2 separate regions of the Homo sapiens genome follow, and region 1 is linked to region 2. Evidence: promoter capture Hi-C in 16 types of primary human blood cells and fetal thymus (Javierre and others, 2016). All regions are on one chromosome and are shown on one strand. Each heading gives the region's core, a stretch centred on a gene start or on the middle of the fragment in contact. The rest is flanking DNA. Distances are from core to core; before and after follow the strand shown. Region 1 overlaps GPLD1 (glycosylphosphatidylinositol specific phospholipase D1). Region 2 holds the start of GMNN (geminin DNA replication inhibitor).

The links. The method cuts DNA at HindIII sites, captures the fragments that hold promoters and counts their contacts. A CHiCAGO score of 5 or more calls a contact.
Region 1: a fragment that was not itself captured here is called in contact with the fragment with the promoter of GMNN in region 2 in 4 of 17 cell types (M2 macrophages, fetal thymus, total B cells and 1 more); the score reaches 5.5 in M2 macrophages.

The regions. Positions count from the first base shown.
Region 1 is chr6:24,443,339-24,446,038 of GRCh38, forward strand. It overlaps GPLD1 (glycosylphosphatidylinositol specific phospholipase D1), which reads right to left. Exons shown (of 25, transcript NM_001503.4): 19 at 2,388-2,493; 20 at 2,208-2,301. Among named protein-coding and RNA genes, the nearest start is that of MRS2, 42 kb to the left of the region's middle. The HindIII fragment of the contact is 620 bases long and covers 1,031-1,650 here.
Region 2 is chr6:24,773,622-24,776,321 of GRCh38, forward strand. It overlaps GMNN (geminin DNA replication inhibitor), which reads left to right and starts at 1,316. Exons shown (of 7, transcript NM_015895.5): 1 at 1,316-1,623. RefSeq lists an enhancer at 2,231-2,310. The HindIII fragment of the contact is 2,242 bases long and covers 237-2,478 here.

The DNA.
Region 1 (2,700 bases), core at 91-2,590, 330 kb before region 2:
TCAGCTGCTTAATTGATCACAGGTTCATATTATTATTAACAGGCTTCAGATGTGCCTAATCACAAGAAACACGGCACTTGGGGCGTGACTGCCCTCAGCTTTCCTTCTGGGTGGCAAATGCAGTTTGTCAGTTTGCCAACATTCTGCATTTATGAGAAACAGTTTTGCTGCTTACTCAAATAGCCTCCAGTGGTATACTGAGTTATCACGACCCTCATTCTTTTGGCTTCCAACATGATTCCAAAGCTAAGTCAGCACTTTTTTTTTGTTATAATGCTGTGTCTTCGATTTAATGAAAAATTTAGCCATTCCTTTGCCTAATCCACTTGTTTTTTTGTTTTTTTGTTTTTGAGACTGAGTCTCACTCTGTCACCCAGGCTGGAGTGCAGTGGTGTCATCTTGGCTCAGTGCAACCTCTGCCTCCAGGGTTCAAGCAATTGTTGTGGTTCAGGCTCAGGAGTAGCTGGGATTACAGGAGCGTGCCACTATGCCTGGCTAATTTGTGTATTTTTAGTAGGTTTAGACAGGTTTCACCATGTTGGCCAGGCTGGTCTCTAACTCCTGACCTCAACTGATCCACCCACCTCTGCCTCCCAAAGTGCCAGGATTACAGGCGTGAGCCACTGCACCCCGCCTGTCTGACCCACTTCTGCTTATTATTCAAATCTTTCCCATATTGCAAGAAACAACAATCTTTCTGAAAAATAGTTTGATGATATATAACAAGAGCTTTTAGAAAGATTAGAACCTCTACTCCAGTAATTCCATCTCCAGGAATCTATCCAAAAAACTAATCAGAAAGGCAGTCAAAGACTAGGTACATGAGTGTTCAATAATTACTTATTCACAATAGTGTGAAACTGGAAACGAGCCTACAATTCCAGCAACAGGATGATGTTAGTAAATGCTGGCATTAAAAAAATGCAATGCAGATATCAAAAGTCATGTTTTAGAAGAATATTTACTAACATGAGAATGTGCTTAAGATATAAGTAAAAAAATTAGGCATGACAATATCATATATAGTATAAGCTTCAGTTTTTAAATATCTGGGTAAGGGGTGTTTTTTTTTTCCTTCTATATATTTCCTTGTATTTTCAGAAGTTTCCACAATAAGCATAATTCACCTTTATAATCTGGGAGGAAATGGTTCTTATTTATTTTTTTTTTTAAAGACTATCTTTCCCATAAAGTAAACAAAATAATGGTTTATATAAAGTATGTTTTCAGGGGTGGGTGCAGTGGATCATGCCTGTAATCCCAGCACTTTGGGAGACCAAGGTGGGAGGATTACTTGAGCCCAGGAGTTAGAGACCAGTCTGGCCAACATGTTGAGACCCTCTCGCTACAAAAAATAAAAAATTAGATAATGTGGTGGCTGACTGCCTGTAGTCGCAGCTACTCAGGAGGCTGAGGTGCAAGGTTCACTTTGCCCAGGAGGTCAAGGCTGCCATAAGCCATAATCACACCGCTGCACTCCAGCCTGGGCGACACAGCAAGACTGTCTCAAAAAAGAAAAATAAAAGATAGGTCCTCATAGTGGACCTATTCCTAGTGAACTGACTTATACAATTTTTCTCTGGCTCCAAGTTCCATGGGATAGGGGCTTTAAAAATACACTAAGTTACTTTCATATGTCATTTTCAACAAAGCTTTGAAACACAAATTTTATTTTATCTTATTTTATTTTATTTTTATTTTATTTTTGAGATGAAGTCTTGCTCTGTTGCCCAGGCTGGAGTGCAGTGGCATGATCTTGGCTTACTGCAACTTCTGCCTCCCAGATTCAAGCGATTCTCCTGCCTCAGCCTCCCGAGTAGCTGGGATTACAGGTATGCACCACCACACCTGGCTAATTTTTGTATTTTTAGTAGAGGCAAAGTTTCACCATGTTGCCAGGCTGGTCTCCAACTCCTGACCTCAAGTGATTCTCTCACCTTGGCCTCCCAAAGTGCTGGGATTACAGGTGTGAGCCACCGCACCCGGCCTGAAATAGGTATTTACAATTTCAGTTTTGTAGATGGTGATACAAAAGTTCTGAGAGGTTAAGTAACTTCCCCAAAGTTACACAGAATGTTATTAATGAAAAAAGGAAATATTGAAACCTAGATCTGTTCAGCTCCAGATCTCATCACTTTCCTCCAATACGACATGTACAAGCAGCCACATGACTGAAAGGAAGCACAGTTTCACAGTGTGTGACCTACCGTACGTAGGGGCTCCAACCAGCAGCACTTGTTTCAGAGTCCCATTCATCAGTACGTGGCCACTGGAAAGGGAAGTACCCAGTTTCCCCATTGCCTGTGAGACACAATAAATCAATATTGTATAGGTGAGAAAACTTCCTTGGAGTGTCCACTCTCCTGTGTGGGGAGGGCTTGTCATACCTTGTCTCCAGAAATGGTAAACCAGCTTTGGCCGTTTGGTGGGAAGTAGCCATACACCCTCCCAAGGCTCTTTTTCTCATCTCGGATGTGTAACAAATGGCCCAGCCTAGAATGAAGCACACTGGGCTTAGCTGCCAGGGCACAAGACTGACAGCTGGCCAGGTACTCAGGAGCAAGGAAAGGAAATGCACCTCCCCCCATCCAGGCCTCCCAGCAGGCTCTGTCTCTGCGACCCCAGGCCTGGAAGTGTGGGGACTATTGGAGTTAATCGCAACATCCAGGCTCTCCAGGTGCCACACCCACCATCCTGCCT
Region 2 (2,700 bases), core at 66-2,565:
CACAAGGCCAATACTGTTTTATTCGCACCAGTGGTTCTCAACTGGGGATGATTTTGCCCTGCGGAAGGTTATCTGACAAGGTCTGCAGACATTTTTGGTCTTCACAATTGGGATGTACTCCTGGTAGCTAGAGGGTAGAGGCCAGGGATACTGCTAAACAGCATACAATGCCCAGGACAGCCCCCACCACGAACAATTTGCCCAGTCTAAAATGTCAATAGAGCCCATACTGAGAAAGCTTGATTTATACCTTTTCCCTTGCTTCTCTCAATAATTATTTCAAATAAAATATATGGTATAAAATTTCATCTGTAATTACCATTTATAGGTAGAAGCTATTACAATAAAACCCACAATATTGTCATTACAACTAATCTCTTTTTTTAACCCATTGCTCATCAGGTAACCTTAAACAACTCATATCTTACCATCCCAAAATATTCAGTCAGTGTTCAAATTTCCCTTGGGTATTTTTTTAAATACAGTGTTTAGTTCAGACGAGATCCATACATTGCATTTGGTAATATGTCCCTTATTTGTACTCGATAACGCCTTCCTTCTGCTTTTTATTTTTAAAATATTTTAAAATTAATTTTTTTTTGAGACAGGGTCTCCCTTTGTCTGTAGTCCCAGCTACTCGGGAGGCTGAGGCAGGAGAATCGCTTGAACCCGGGAGGCGGAGCTTGCAGTGAGCCGAGATCGCGCCACTGCACTCCAGCCTGGGTGACAGAGCGAGACTCCGTTTCAATTAAAAAAAAAAAAAAGAAGGAAAAGGCTAGACGTAATTATTACCAAGGTGTTTCTGCTCCTTCAAATTGCAACAGCAGTTGTAATTTCAGTGCCTAGAACAGTAGTAATTGGCACGTATAAGGCGCTCAATGAATAGCTGCAGGATTAACTGATAATCGGTTGTCTCCTGAACAATTCCTACCGCACCACACCATAGTCAAAACACAAAAAGCCAAAATATAAAAGCCCCTAATACAACTACGAGTCCGTGGAGCCAGGGCTTTACACAAATATATGTCGTGTACTACATATTAATATATATGCACATACAATATTTTGTTCTTCTGGTGCTAACGACTAATGGAGGCAAATCTTTCTCCCTTTCGTAAAGGGCTAAAACTTTGCATTTTAAGGAAGTTCCAAGAGCAGGGTCGGAGGGGAGGGTCAAAGGGCACAGGCCTCCCAGCCCGCAGAAAACCCCCACGGTCCTCAAGTACTCGCTACCGTTGACCGCGCAGGCGCAGGAAGGGGCGGGGCCGAGGGAAGAGGCGATTCGCGGGATCCAGAGGCCCCGCCCCTCGTCTGCGTCAGTTGGTCACGTGGTTGTTCGGAGCGGGCGAGCGGAGTTAGCAGGGCTTTACTGCAGAGCGCGCCGGGCACTCCAGCGACCGTGGGGATCAGCGTAGGTGAGCTGTGGCCTTTTGCGAGGTGCTGCAGCCATAGCTACGTGCGTTCGCTACGAGGATTGAGCGTCTCCACCCAGTAAGTGGGCAAGAGGCGGCAGGAAGTGGGTACGCAGGGGCGCAAGGCGCACAGCCTCTAGACGACTCGCTTTCCCTCCGGCCAACCTCTGAAGCCGCGTCCTACTTTGACAGCTGCAGGGCCGCGGCCTGGGTAAGGGCGAAGGGGTTGTTGAACGGTCGCGGGAGCCGGGGCGGGGTTGGGAGGTGAGTCGAGGGACTGCCCCATTGGCTGGGTCGGTTTTGGCGCGCTCTCACTTCCGCGCTTCCTATTGGCTGGCTGGCGCAGTTCCCGAGGCGCGCGCCGCGGTTGGTAGGCTCGGACGCGCGGGGCCACACTGCCCGCCCCCTAGCCTGGCGCTGGGCCTCCGGGACAAGTTGGCTGGGTCCGGGCTTGGGGACTGCAACGCGGGTAAGGGACTCAGCCTGGGCTTGCCAGCTGTGGGGATGAGGCGAAGCATCCATCCTCTTGGCAGTTAAGTGGCTGGTCCTGATCTGAGGGATCTGCAAATTTGGCTCATGGAAAGAGGTGGCTGAATTCTGCGTCTCCCATTAAACGGATACTGGCGTTGTTGATACGGGTTTCGCATGGACCCTGTCCTGTGCCAGGGTTTTTAATCTAGCTATTAAAGGAACTGGAGAATAACAAGTAAGGGTTGCAAGGTCGCTGACAGGCGTGGGAAACTTGTGAAGGATTAGAATGCTAAGTGGCTTTCAGCTTTTTTCACACTAAGGTACGTTTTACGTCGCAACCTAGGACACAGCTATCTAACCAAATGAGACGTGATGGAAGCAATGTTTCTCGTCTCTTCAATTCCATTCTGTTCAGTTGCATTTTTCTAAGCAGTGTTGCTCATGACTCACTAATTTCGAGATCACGGCCCGCGACCCGCAGTTTGAAGAACATTGCGTAGGGTCTGTTTACTGGGGCCCGAACACCATTTTCTTAACATGAAATAGAGTAGAAAATAGCAGGATGCCCGCACAAATTAGATTGTTTTGTTTTCTAAGCTTTTTTTTTTTTTGAGACGGAGTCTCGCTCTGTTGCCCAGGCTGGAGTGCAGTGGCAGGATCTCGGCTCACTGCCACCTCCACCTGTCGGGTTCAAGCGATACTCCTGCCTCAGCCTCCCGAGTAGCTGGGACTACAGACGAGCACCACCACGTCCGGCTAATTTTTGTATTTTTGGTAGAGATGGAGTTTCACCATATTGGCCAGGCTGGTTTCGAAC